Linked DNA regions of Homo sapiens: all the other regions are linked to region 3. Evidence: promoter capture Hi-C in 16 types of primary human blood cells and fetal thymus (Javierre and others, 2016). All regions are on one chromosome and are shown on one strand. Each heading gives the region's core, a stretch centred on a gene start or on the middle of the fragment in contact. The rest is flanking DNA. Distances are from core to core; before and after follow the strand shown. Region 1 overlaps LINC00523 (long intergenic non-protein coding RNA 523). Region 2 has its middle 13 kb from the start of LINC00523. Region 3 holds the start of YY1 (YY1 transcription factor).

Region 1 (4,341 bases), core at 651-3,150, 420 kb before region 3:
CCTGTCTCTACTAAAAACACAAAAAAATTAGCCGGGCATAGTGGCACACACCTGTAATCCCAGCTACTCAGGAGGCTGAGGCAGGAGAATCGCTTGAACAAGGGAGGTGGAGGTTGCAGTGAGCCGAGATCAAGCCACTGCACTCCAGCCTGGGTGACAGAGCAAGGCTCTGTCTCAAAAAAACTAAAACAAAAAAACCATGGAACCAGCAGAGTGTCTCAGCATCATCAGCTGTCTGATAGGTGAGAGCCCACTTGGAGCCAGAGATGGGGAGGGCTATTGTGCTAGCTTGCTGAGGGCTGAGTCGGTCCTTGGCCTTGACAGAAGGGGCCGGCAGAGGGGCACTGCAGGAAGCCAGCAAGCAGGAGGCCTCACTCAGCCTTGGATGGGGCAGAGAGATCGCCAAGAAGGCGCAGTAAGGAGCTGTCTGCCTCCCGAGAGGGTTTTGGGTGAGGACAGACTTTGAGTCTGTCTTGAGGAGAGTGGGGGGGAAGCAGGAGGAAGAATGGGGAGCCACCACTTACTCTATGTCTATTGAATGCCAATTCTTCATATATGTAGCAGTCCTGCTAAGTAGTGGTTATTACGCCTATTTTTCAGATATGGAAGCTGAGGCTCGCAGAAGTATAGTGGCTCATCTGGAGTCACAGCCAGAAAACAGAGGCACAGGAATGTGAACACAGGACCCAGGATCAGTATACCTGGAGCCTGGCCCACCGCACACAGTAAAAACCACAGGAGGGCAGAGGAGGGGGAGGTCACCACAACCCTTGGTGCACGACCACCCACAGGAATACAGAGGTCTCTTTTCACTGTGCTGGCATGGCTCATGATCAGTCAGTATACAGGAGACACAGACCCTCCCACAGTGCCCCTTCCACGTTCACAGCAGACATTGCTAATCAATCACAGCATGCCTCCAAGCACCAACACCAACAATCAGGGTTGGTAGACTGGATGGACCAATTCGCCATCCTGGGCTAGTTCTTTGATTTTAGTGGCTGAACTGTTCAATGCAGCAGCCACGAGCCACATATCGTTACGGGGTGCCTAAAATGGAACTCACATCTAAAGTGCATTTAAGTACAAACAGCATGTTGGATTTCGAGACACAGTCTAACAAAAAAAAAGTAAAGTATCTAATAAATGTCGTGTTGATTACATGCCAAGATGATACTATTTTGGATATACCGAGTTAAAGAAAATATAACACTAATTTCACTTTTCTTGTGTACTTTTTAGAAATGTGGCTTACGTTCGGTTTCCGTTGGACAGCGCTGGTCTCGAGTTCAAGCTGTGCCAACAGCGCCCCTGGTGGCCGAAGTGGGTAAATTCATCTGACCAAGGGCCTGTTTTTCTACTGGAGACCCTGCGCAGGTTACTCCACGGTTCTGCACCTGTTTCCTCATCTGTGAAATGGGGACAATAATAGTTCCTATCTCATAGATTGCAATTCAGGAATAGATGAGTTAAAATATGGAAAGTATGTGAAGCAGCACCTGGCACCGTAATAAACGCTGAGTGACAGTTGGCTATGTTTTTATTATAGCATCTTGTTGACTGGGAGGTAGATTGCAGGCCCTTTTCTCTCCTGGGCCTCCCGATCTTGGCCCCACTCCAGAGCAGCCTCCACTCCCCAGGAGAGATAGGAGCTGACGTCCATCAGGAAGAGCACAGCTTCCTGCTGTGTACACCGGAAGAGGCCCCACCAGGCCAAAGCCATGAAGCCATCACTGGAGCCACTTCCTGTGTCTCACTAATAAGCTTCCCCATCACCCCTCACTGGGGTTCTGGTTCCTACCTGAGCTCTTGAACCCTGAGCCCAGTTCAAATCTCTGGAGTCCTCAAAGCCCCCGACACTCTTGCTGTTCCCTGACTCTCCCCACAGCATGGTTGCTGACACTGATCCTTCCAGGAAGCTGCTTAACTCAGTCCCATTTCCCAACAAGCTCTGAGAGTCATTAAAAATAATAATAGATGTGCCTTTGCAGATATAAAGCAAGAATGGCTAGTTGTGGCATTTCTGCAAAGCTTAAAAAACACAGAAAAATTATTTTTAAAAAAGGAGGGGGGAAAGGCTTTTGTAATTCCACCACCAAGAGTCAGCCACTACTTACTATCTTCCTAGCTCCCTTTCTAGAGCAGTGCTGTCCAATAAAAATGTAAAGTGAGGCCGGGTGCAGTGGCTCACACCTGTAATCCCAGCGCTTTGGGAGGCCGAGGTGGGAAGATCACCTGAGGTCAAGAGTTCGAGACCAGCCTGGCCAACATGGCGAAACCCTGTCTCTACCAAAAATACAAAAATTAGCCGGGTGTGGTGGCATGTGCCTAGAATCCCAGCGACTCAGGAGGCTGAGGCAGAAGAATCGCTTGAACCTTGGAGGCGGAGGTTGCAGTGAGCCGAGATCACGCCACTGCACTCCATTCAGCCTGGGCAAAAAAAAAAAAAAAAAAATGTAAAGTGAGCCACATAAGTAATTTCACAATTTCTAGCAACATGTTTTGAAAAGTAAATTTCACCTGGCTCTTAACCAGGTGAAATTAATTTTAACAATATATTTTATTTAACCCAATGTATTCAAAATATTATCATCTCAATGTGTAATCGATGTAGAAATCTTCACGAGATCGTTTACATTCTCCTTTTGTACTAAGTCTCTGAAGTCCCGTATGCTGCTTGCACTCACAGCACCTTTCGATTTGGTCAAACTGCATTTCAAGTGTTCAGTACCCATGTGGCTCATGGCTGCTATATCAGAGAGTGCAGGTCTAGGGTGCTTTTTAAAGCAAATGGGCGAGTGTTGAGTGTGACAATGTTGGACTGTCAAGGCCTGTAGAGTTTGGGACCCTGCTAGTCCACACTTGCCCCTGAGCCTTGCAATAATGAAATCCCTTCCTTCCTCAGGGCCAGCTGCTCCATGCACACCATATAGAATCTATACACTCTTTCCCAAGAGCTCCATGCACTATTAGGTGGGGAATCATTGGATGTCAGGAAAAGAAAGGGCAAGATAGCTCCATGGTGCCCTGGGTCGACGATGGAGAAGCATGCCTCTGAGAGCCCTCCAAGGTTAAGAAACAGGGAGTCCCCAGCACCCCTCAATCATCCTCATTCACATTGCTACTGCCCCGTTTTCCACACTTCAGTTTCCTCGGATTTCGTACTCCAGGCAGAAGCTCCAAGACGCCTAGTACTTCAGGTTTGACATCCTGCCAGCTTGGGCTCCAAGCAATGGGCTCCCCGTACATTGCGAACCGCGTGTCTCCCAAGATGAAAGACTGTAAAAAAAAGATAAAAATAGTTCCCGGGAAAGGGACTGCTTCAGCTGGCCCAGTTTGTAGAGTCCCTGTTTCATCTCTGATGTGAATAATTCATCTCTTCTAAAGTGCTGCTGTTAAGTTAGGAGCATCATTATTGCATTTTTTTTGATGAGGCACTTCTTAAAAAATCATAAACACCCAGCACATTAAGAGGAGAGCCTGAAGTACGTCATTTAGAGCCATTTGCTCAGGCAGAACCCAGCGCTTGTGATCCGTGCCGTCAGCTTGTTCCCTAAGCTGACATATCAAAGCTGCCTTTGGTTTCCTCCTTTGCTTAGACTAGGGAGTATGACCTTGCTTCTTTTGAAGAGTTTGCAGAGGTGGCCCTGGAGAAGGAAACAGTCCGGCCTGGGAAGCAGGCGGCCGGAGGGCTGGCCCTTGCTCTCTTTGGCCTCTTCTCAATTACCTTGTGAAGACAAGCACAAGTAAACAACTCTGGAGTGAGGCCAGCTCAGTATACATTCTTGAAGAAGCCGAAGGGCACTGCGATATGAATAATAATATGAGTAACAGTGACTCATGCCACCATTAATTGATCACTTACTACATGCCAGGCCGCCCACACTAAGAGCTCTAGATGCATTATCTCATTTCATCCATGCAACGCTATGAAGAGGGACACTCCTATTATACCCATTTCACAGATGAGGGCACTGAGGCACGGAGGGCAGGGATGAGTCATTTGCAGGGCTGTCTGCTCCTGTCCTTCTCCACCTCTCTCAGTGGGGAGGGACACTCCCCTCCAATTGCTGATAGTCCCTGGAATCCCAGCTGAGCCCAGAGCAGGTCTGCAAAGAGGTCACTGAACTCCGTGATAGTAAGGTCAAGGCCACCCTGAAACCAGCCATCTCCTACAGAGCCAGGCTGCCCTCCCCTTGCACACAGGCTGCCTGGGCTTAAGTTCCGCCAACAGACTTGGAGCAGGAGGGCTGCGGGCTGCCCTTTGTATGCACATGCGTCTCCAAACCAGCCTTTTTACAAAATGTATTTTAGTTGTGGGATCCTTTATTCCCGTGAATT
Region 2 (4,788 bases), core at 1,642-4,141, 400 kb before region 3:
GGCGTGAGCCACCACACCCAGCCTAGACTAATTATTTTCTTCCCCTCCTTTCCATTTTTATTTTATATCCAAACTGTTGGAAGTTAACTTCACAGTTTAGTGTGTAGGTAATAAAATATTTAGTGGAAATGCAAATGAATTTGAGGAGTAATTCACATAGTCAGTGACAGAAACACTGGCTGCTGGACTGCATGTCTCCTCGTTTCAGAGAGAGGGCAGAAACTGTCATGGGTAAGATCTGTAGCTGCATCTTGTTAGGTGGAGATATAAAGATGTTTTGCTGCTGTACAGGAGTCCAAATGTGTGTAGTACACATGGAAGGTGAGTAGCCAAAGGGGTGGACCGTGCCAGTTATCAATTTATTGTCTCCCAGCTCCGAATCTGCCCTGCATTGGCTGTTGTATTAAAAAATGAGCTGGTGCCTTTGTGATTTTCTTTGCCTGTCGACACCACATTAAGCTTTGTCAGCAGAGGGCGCTGGAGAGACAGGACAGGAGGCAGGGATTTTCCCTCCTGGTACTGGGCGGTGGCTGGGCAGACTCCTGCAGTGTGGGCGGCCTCTCCAGCAGTGCGGTGAACGCAGTTGGCAGCTTCCCTCTGCTCTCTCTAGGGTGGGTTTGTAGCAGATATCTCCTCATGAACAGCCTCCCCAGCACCCTAAAGGGTGGATTTCCAGCAAGCTCTGTTGGTGCAGCCCACAGCCACATCCACTAAGCCACAGCTGTGCCCTCCCCACTGAGCCCTGGTCGGGGGAGGGTCTTCCTTGGCTGCTGTATCTCAGAACTGGGGTAGCAACTGCTCCTTATGCCTGCAACCGCTAGGTTCTTTCAAGTTCCCTTCACTCCTTACTGCCCAGTCCCTCATTACTGCAGAGCCCCGTTATAATCAATAATCTATCAACTTGCCTTGATCAGATTACTGTGTGGATTCTGTCTGCTGTCTGGAGTCTGGCTGCTACACTGAGCTGAAAACCAGGAAGTTAGGGCATGGCTTAGAATGATTTCAACTGCAATAAGTTCTCCTTAAGAGGTAACTGTGTGCCGGTCACCGCACCCCGAGATACAGCCATCAGAGGTGCATGGTCTCTGTCCTGGCAAGTTTACAACCAAGGGGGATAGACAGTCACTAGGCAAAGTGTCACAGGCAAAGATGTGGCTGCACTAGAAAATGTCCTATAGTGTTAAGAACTGTGAAGCAAAGTTAAAAGGGCAATTCAACGCAGTGGCCATGGCTGGGAGTGGGCAGCAACTCTGGGGGGTGTTCAAGGAAGGCCTCTGTGTGGAGGTGACGTTTGAGCTGAGACTGAAGAAGTGCAAGGAAAGACCGGGGCGGAGGGATCATTCCTGGTGCAGAAATAGCGATTGCAAAGGCCCCGAGGTGAGCATTGATCTGGCCTTTTTGTGCAACAGAAAGAAGACCAGGAGTTCCAGGAAAACAGGAGGAGGAAGTGGTAGAGAATAGGTCTGAGATAAGACAAGGGACAGAGGATGGGGGCCTTGCAGGCCAGAGCAGATGTTATTTGAAGTCAGTAGAAAGTCCCTGGAGGGGTTTAATCCAAATATGCATAAAGAACGATTTTTTAAACGTGAAGGTTCCCTTTAGTAGGATGGGGGGAAAGTGGGAGACATTGCACCCCATTAGTGCTGTATTGCAGCACGTTACCGTGGCTATTGCTGTTATGGTGAACACCTTGTGCATGTTTTGTTCCCACAGTCATTAGCTTTACAGCTCCCTCCTCCAGGCAGTCTTCTCAGACCTTCGCTGGCCAAGCTCATCGCCTCCTCTTTGCTCTGCAGTTCCACCCCAAGCCTCTTGTGCTCTCCCTGGCTGTTCTCACTCATTCACAGTGTAGACATCTGTTTCCTGGTCAGTCCCCTGCCCCTTCCTGTCTCTGCCACTGGGATGCCACCCACTCAGTGAGGACAGCATCGACCAGCACACTGAGGTCAAGCTAAATGAGGCCGGGCACAGTGGCTCATGCCTGTAATCCCAGCACTTTGGGAGGCGGAGGCGGGTGGATCACTTGAAGTCAGGAGTTCGAGACCAGACTGGCCAACATGGTGAAACCCCATCCCTACTAAAAATACAAAAATTAGCCGGGCATGGTGGTGTGCACCTGTAATCCCAGCTACTCAGGAAGCTGAGGCAGGAGAATCGCTTGAACCTGGGAGGCGGATGTTGCAGTGAGCCGAGATTGTGCCATTGCAGCCTAGGCGACAGAGAGAGACTCCATCTCAAAAAAACAAAAACAGACTAAATGAATACAGCTGACACTATACCTCATACCAGGAATGTCCAACCAAAACAGCAGAAATAAGACCCTGTGAGACAGGCAGGGTGGCAAGTGCTCCTGTCCCCATTGTACAGAGTAACAAGACCAAGGTCCAGAGAGGTGCTCAGGGTCACACAGCACATGGGTGGTGCCAACTCCAGGGTCAGTGCCACAGCACTTGGCCTCTCTGTACCTCCTGTGTAGGAGCAAGGCACACAGCTCTCTTGCTGGTGCAGCTGGGGAAACCGAGGCCAAGTCCCAGACCACCCAGCTAGGGGGAGCGTGTGCCTCTCACTCTCAGGTTGGTGTGACTGAGAGTGACCAGGCACTGGGCTGGATTGCCAGGGCAGGGGAGGGCAGGTCAGGCTGTCTCTGGCCAAGAGGGACGCAAGGGCTAGAAAATCATTACAGGCGGATGAATTATTCACAGTGCCGTCAACCTCCTCAGGCCCCGACTGCGCTGAACAGCCCAGCGCATCTTATTACCCATGTGTGATGGCCTCTTTCTCTGTCTCAGAAGAAAGTGATTCAACACCATCAAATATTAATTTGGGGCGGCAGACACAGTGGCCACTCACATACTGGCCCTTCAACACTGCCCCAGCAGTCACAGATGACGCCAACCCAGGAACCAGAGATGTGGCCAGCAGGGCCCAAGAGGGCACAACTTTCCTCCAGCCCAAATCACAAGGCCCCCATGCAACAGCCTCAAACCTCAGTCCATAACCTCAGGCGCACCGGAAATGCTACTTACTTTGTTTTCCTAAAATGGAGTTTCATGTTGATTTTGCACACTGTTCTCAGTCTTGGTTTGGGGTCCCTGTCTCTACCCCTGGTCCTTCCCGGGGCTAAGGATCAGAGGAGCCCTGGGGTCTGTACTAGTTTCCCGCAGCTGCCTTAACAAAGTGCCACAGACTGAGGGGCTCAAGCAACAGAAATCTATTCTCTCAGGGTTCTGGAGGCTAGAAGTCTGAGATTGAGGTGTTACCAGGGTCACACTTCTCTGGAGGCACTAGGGGAGGATGCTGTCTGGCATCCAAGTCTGGTAACTGTACTCTCTGAAGTCTGGTAACTGCTGGCAACCTTTGACTATGGACAGGTCATCCCCATTTCTGCCTCTGTCTTCATATGGCTTCTCCTCCCCAGGTGTGCCCCTGTGGCCTCTCCTCTTCTTTTCTTTTCTTTTTTTTCTTTTTTTTTTTTTTTGAGATGGACTCTTGCTCTTGCTCTGTCACCCAGGCTGGAGTGCAGTGGCGCAATCTCAGCTCACTGCGACCTCTGCCTCCCAGGTTCAAGTGATTCTCTTGCCTCAGCCTCCCGAGTAGCTGGGATTACAGGTGCCCACCAGAATGCCTGGCTAATTTTTGTATTTTTAGTAGAGATGGGGTTTCACCATGTTGGCCAGGCTGGTCTTGAACTCCCGACCTCAGGTGATCCTCCCTCCTCGGCCTCCCAGAGTGGTGGGATTACAGGTGTGAGCCACTGCACTGGGCCTCTCTCCTCTTATAAGAACACCAGTCCTTGGATTAGGGCCCACCTTATTCTGATATGACCTCGTCTAACTGAATGACATCTGCAATGCCCCTGTTTCCCCCAGGCCTGTCTCTCCATGTCCCAGGTCCCCCGGATTGGAGTTACCTACTCATGTGCCTGCCCCTCAGGGTCACCTCCCTGGAGTGGGGCCCAGCTCTCTATCACCAGCTTCAGCCCAGGTAGGGGCTCCAACAGTGTAAGCTGTTATCAAGATCAGTTTGCTTCCTAGCCCTTCCTCTTCTGCCCTGGGCCCCCCACACCATCCTCATGCCCCTCCACCTTGAGCCGGCCCCTGCCCCCTCAGTCCTCCCCCTCTGGTCCTCATTCATCCTGAGCCCAGGCCCATGACCTCAATGCCCCCGGCTTCTAAATAATGACACCTTCCACACCCTCATCTCCTCCCTCCTCCCTAGTCCCCTTCTCCCCTGGCCTGGGCTGGTGACTTGGTGAGGAGGATACAGGGATGAGTCTGGAGCTGTCCAGAGGCCAGTGGGAGCAGCTGATCTGTAAAGAGACAGCACAGGGCGCTGCGGGGCCAAGGGAGCCTGAGGAGTACAGCGTGGGGTGGTCAAAGAAGGCCTCCCTGAGGCTTCATGGGAGGGCTGGACATAGCCAGGAACAAGGAGGGTGTCCGGGAGCAATGGCTGGAGACAGAACCGCTGCCAATAGTCAGGTGTGTCTGTCTGCAGCACTGAGGGCTTTGAAGTCAGGCTGGGGAGGGAGCAGGGCGGTCCAGGGGAGCCCCCATGCCCAGCAGGCAGGGCCTGGCCAGATCTGCACTACATCCAAATAAAGGCAGCGCTGTCAGGCAGCTGAGATGCAGCGGGGACTAGAAGCAGAAGATGCAGGGGGAGGAGAGCTGAGGCCCAGCAAGTCGCAGTGGTGTGGCCACCAGGAGCTTAGCCTCAGAGCCAAACTGGCCAGAAGCCAAGGTCAGCAGCCATACATCTCTGGCATGAGATCCTGTGCAGATCACTAACGCC
Region 3 (4,580 bases), core at 859-3,358:
GAGGTTCCACCGCTTATATGGAGTACTAAACGTAATCATCACAGGCATTAGATTAACTACGATGGCAGGATTATTCTCAGTCTATTTAGTATCTCAGCAATTTAGCTAGGTAGCATATGAATATACTAATAGGATACTGACCTAAAAAACCAGCATTGAATTAATAATTGCCTTTGAAGTAAAAACAGATTTTACACAGGCAGATAAGATCCTTTTGCTCTAGATGGTTTTCAGGCCTTCGTTAAAAGTAGTATTAAAACAGTAAAACAAAACTCAAAAAAACCCGCTTTCTATTATCGTTCTTTTCATGGGGAAAATAGATACCTTTCTACAAAGTAAAAACCATAAAGGCTTAAAATTAAACTACCCGATTTTATTTACTGGCAAATGTCCACAGTTGAGTAAACTAACCCAACCTATTCAGAAGAGCTAAATACTTGAGGGAAAAAAAAAAAGCTTTCCCAAAACGTAAGTGACTAAGAATTATTCGCTAACATTCACAGGCCCTTTCCACTAGGTACCGCAGGAAGGCGAAAAGGCCAGGAATTCGCTGGCAACGGCGGTGACAGGCTCCGACTGACGCTCGGAGCCCGCACACGCGAGCCCTACGTGCAGCCCCAAGTCCCGCCCCGCAGCAAACGACGACTTGGGCGAGCGTGACCGCCGGGGCAGGGTCCAGCCCGGCGCTGGGTGGGCGGGGAGCAAGGAGGCCGGAGGGCGCCCACGAGTGCCAAGCCCCCTCCTTCTGGAAGGTGCCACCGGGGAGCAGTTGGGAGTCCGGGGAAGTTGGGGGCGGGCGGGGCAAGCGCCCGCGGCGCCCTCCAGCGGCCGATGGGGTAACGGCAGCGCCGGGCGGGGGCGGGGGCGCGCGTCCCGGAGGCAGCAATCCCTGGCCCGCGAGGCCGCGGCGCAGCCCCGCCAACGACCTCCCGCGTCCCGCCCGGGCCGGGGGCGCGCAGCTGCCGCCACAACGGGCCGGCGGGCGCGCCCGTTGATGCGGGCGCGGGGAGCGAGGGCGTCGGGGAGCGAGCGCGCCGGCCCCTCCCCCGGCCGTCTCCGCCCCGCGCGGCGCTTCCCCCTCTCGGAGAAACTACGCCATTGCGGCCTAGCCGGGCGGCGCCGGCCCCTCCCCCCCGCGGCCTGCCGCCATCTTCGCGGCCCGCCGCCCGCCGCCGCCGCCGCGCCCCCGCCGCCGCACGGCCCGCCATCTTTTGGGGCCGCCATACTTGCCCTGGCGAAGAAGATGGCGGCGCCCATCACACACATAAAACATGGCTTCCCTTCAAAACAAAAACATCCCGGGGCCGGGGCGCGCGGCCGGCGCTCACCTGAGGACCACATGGTGACCGAGAACTCGCCCTCCAGGGTCTTGATCTGCACCTGCTTCTGCTCCCACTTCTTGTTGCCCGGGTCGGCGCCGCCGCCGCCCGCCGCGCCGGCCCCGCCGCTGAGGTAACTCTTCTTGCCGCTCTTCTTGCCGCCGCCCTTCTTGACGCGGCCGCCTCCCGACGACGACGAGCCGCCGCCGCCGCTCTTGCCGGCCGCCGCCACGGTGACCAGCGTTTGTTCAATGTAGTCGTCGTCGCCGCCGGCCGGCGCGGGCACCGGGATGAGAATCTGATCCTCGAAGCCGTCCTCGGCGCGCAGCCCGTCCGAGTCGTCGCCGCCCACCACCTCCTCGCGCGTCTGCACCAGGATCACCTCCTGGTGGTGGTGCACCTGGGTCGGGTCGTCGGTGACCAGCGGCTGCAGAGCGATCATGGGCGGGTGGTGGTGGTGGTGATGGTGGTGGTGGTGGTGGCCGGCGTGCCCGTGGCCGCCCCCGCCGCCGTGGTCGCCACCGCCGCCGTCCTCGTCGTCGTCGTCCTCCTCCTCCTCCTCGCCCACCACTGTGGTCTCGATGGTCTCCACCGGGATGGTCTCCACCTCGATCTCGTGCAGCTCCACGATCTCGGCCGGCATCTCCGAGCCGTCCGTGGCGATGTAGAGGGTGTCGCCCGAGGCCATGGCTGAGGGCTCCGCCGCCACGGCCGCGGCGGCCTCGGCTCCTCGGCTGCGGGCGGGCGGGCGAGGAGGCGGCCGGCCGTGGGGAAGGAAGGCAGAGGGAGGAAGGCGGCGAGCGGGCGGGGGGAGAGGGGGCGGGCGGCGGGGGAAGGGGCGGGCGCCGCGGCGGCGGCGGGGCTTCCCCGCCTCCCTCGCCTCGGTGCGCCCGCGCCCGCGCTCGCTCGGCCGCTGCTCGTCTCGGCTCCCCGCCTCGCCTCGCCTCGCCGCAACCGCCCGCCCTGGCCGCGCCTCCTCCCGCCCTCCGGGCCGGCGCTCCGCTTCCCCCTTCCTCCTGCGCCTCCGCCTCCTTCCACACAAATACCAACTCCTCAACCCGAGCCCAGATCTCGCCGCCGCCGCCACACTCTGCTCGGGCCCGGCCTCGCGAGACTTCCGCGCTGGCCTCAGCCCGCCCCGCCTCGCTGCCACTCGCCCGTTCGCCCTCTCGATTCTCCTCTCGGCCAATCGATCTGTCCGCTGGCCTCCGCGGCCCCGCCCACTCGCCGGGCTCCTCCCGGATTGGGGCCGATGGGACCGGGGGCGGGGCGGCTCGCACGCGCCCTGGCTGGCCCGCGGCGCGTGACGTCAGCGCGCCGCCGCCGCCGCCACCGCCTCCCGCTTCCCGGTGTCGCGCGGCTGCCGCCCTTCGCGGTGCAACAGCCACAAAACCCGCCGCCTCGGGCCGGGGCCGCACTCGGGAACGGGGCGTCGCCGCTACAGCCGCTGCCTTGGGAGCCGGTGAGCGGTCCGCGCGGCCCCGGGCACCACGGGGGCGGGAGCCTGAGGAGAAGGGAGGGAGGGGCCGGCCGGGAGCGGGGTTGAGGCGGGTGGGCGGCCCGGGGGCCGCGCGGGGAGCGGCTGGCGCGTGCGGGGCGGCCCTGTCGCCCCAATAAAGTCTGCTTTGACGAGAATCGCCTGTGCTTCCTTTTTCGCGTCGGGAGGTGTTTGTTCTTGTCGCCTGGCTTCGGGCGAGCGATGGCCGCGGGGTGAGTGTGGAGGACCGAACGGACAAAATCGGGCGACGCGGGCAGCGTCCGGTATCTCGCCGCGAGCGCCCGGCGGGGTGCGGGGCCGAGCGCGGGGTCGGCGCGAGCTCGGCGGAAGCGCCCGCGGAGCCCCAGGGCCACCGTTGGGAGGATGTCCGTTATTCTTTAGTGACCCGCGGAAACCTGAGACGCAGCCGTTGGGTGCCTGTTTCCCCGTAGATCTTAGAACTACAGGGTCCTGGCGGCTTTCTAAAATTTTCTCCTGAGCTTCCCCTTCTTTGCTCTCCAGTCAGCCATTGTTTCCCTTGCCCACCCTTTCCCCCTATTTGTCACTTTCATAGGTGCTCCTTTTTACGCCCACCAGGTTTTGCATTTGTCTCATTTAAAATTCCAAATTTTTTCAGCCGTGTCCTCCATTGTACCTGCAACAGAGCCTAGATTTTTTTTTGTGGCACGGATTAGCGGCAAGTTAAACCTTCCTGAATGAGTTACATTGCAGCGAAGTGTTTCTGCTCTTATCTGTCCTTTTGGTCGACCTGACAATTTGCCTTAAAGCAAAACAAAGATTTCCTGATTTTTAAGGAAACTATGACAAATTGAAGAGTTGGAAAGGTGTGTCTTTGTTGTACTCGTTTGGCCGATTTAACGCCTCTGTGAATTTGTTCAACTTAAATATTATCAACATTTACTGTTTTGTAATAGTGTTCATGCAGTTGAGGCCCATGATTTTCTGAACTGTACGCAATACATTAATCTTAGGCTCAACTTGTTAAAACAAGTAGACTATACATTCTCATTAAAAGGCAACTTTATAAATCCTAGTCCCTTCTTATTGCTAAATCGCATTGGACTTGACTTTTGAGAATATTAGTGTAAGGAGTGACAAATTAGATCGTTTTCTCTTTGAATCTGAGCTTTGAAACCTGAATAATTCCCCTTGGAGTACTGCACCCACTCAGTTTGGAAAAGTCAAATCTGTTGAATTAAGTCATCTCTGGCTTTATAGCTTATAAACTCTGCATAAATATTTCATGAATGGAAACCAGTTGTGGGAGAACTTTTACATGTCTTAATGCTTTTTAAATTTCACTTTCCCCACTCTCTAGTAATTGATGGGGAAATGGCACTGCAAGTAGTTGATACTTCCCCATAAACACCAATTGTGAGAGCAAGAGAAATGAGGGAATTACCCATTAAGCATCCTGGTTTCTGAGCTGTAGATCTGTAGGTGTTCACATTCAAGTGGAGAAAGCCCAAAAGGATTGAAAGCTTTGAGGAAAGGTAGTAGGTCAGAAAGCACTAAAATGCTCCTGAAGGCCATCCTAGTACCTGCTCCAGAAAATAGCTTTTTAAACTTGCCCCATAGGAGGTGACCTGTTAGGCCTTAAGTTTTTCTAGTGGGAGATATTCTTGTTTTCTACTGTTTAACGGTGGAGTATCTTATGACTAGACATGCAAAGATAATGTGTCGTGTGGCTCTCGCTTGCTTGCACTTGCTAAAGGTAAAAATTATTTTAAAAGGACAGGTCAAATTGCAGTTTCAGAATCATG

Evidence for each region. Contacts are between HindIII fragments. The CHiCAGO score rates a contact against its expected background, and 5 or more counts as called.
Region 1: a contact is called between a fragment that was not itself captured here and the fragment with the promoter of YY1 in region 3, in 1 of 17 cell types (megakaryocytes). The highest score is 5.7, in megakaryocytes.
Region 2: a contact is called between a fragment that was not itself captured here and the fragment with the promoter of YY1 in region 3, in 2 of 17 cell types (monocytes and neutrophils). The highest score is 8.5, in monocytes.

Annotation. Positions count from the first base shown.
Region 1 is chr14:100,660,437-100,664,777 of GRCh38, reverse strand. The region is part of intron 1 of LINC00523 (long intergenic non-protein coding RNA 523); the gene reads right to left. Among named protein-coding and RNA genes, the nearest start is that of LINC00523, 5.3 kb to the right of the region's middle. RefSeq lists an enhancer at 3,057-4,256. The HindIII fragment of the contact is 267 bases long and covers 1,767-2,033 here.
Region 2 is chr14:100,641,598-100,646,385 of GRCh38, reverse strand. No RefSeq gene overlaps it. Among named protein-coding and RNA genes, the nearest start is that of LINC00523, 13 kb to the left of the region's middle. RefSeq lists an enhancer at 711-1,211. The HindIII fragment of the contact is 4,860 bases long and covers 462-4,788 here.
Region 3 is chr14:100,236,672-100,241,251 of GRCh38, reverse strand. It overlaps YY1 (YY1 transcription factor), which reads right to left and starts at 2,108. Exons shown (of 5, transcript NM_003403.5): 1 at 1,329-2,108. The coding sequence starts at 2,007. It overlaps YY1-DT (YY1 divergent transcript), which reads left to right and starts at 2,631. Exons shown (of 2, transcript NR_189150.1): 1 at 2,631-2,781. RefSeq lists silencers at 507-1,186, 1,457-1,506, 1,997-2,066, 2,217-2,296, 2,357-2,956 and enhancers at 1,197-1,356, 2,194-3,046. The HindIII fragment of the contact is 3,842 bases long and covers 459-4,300 here.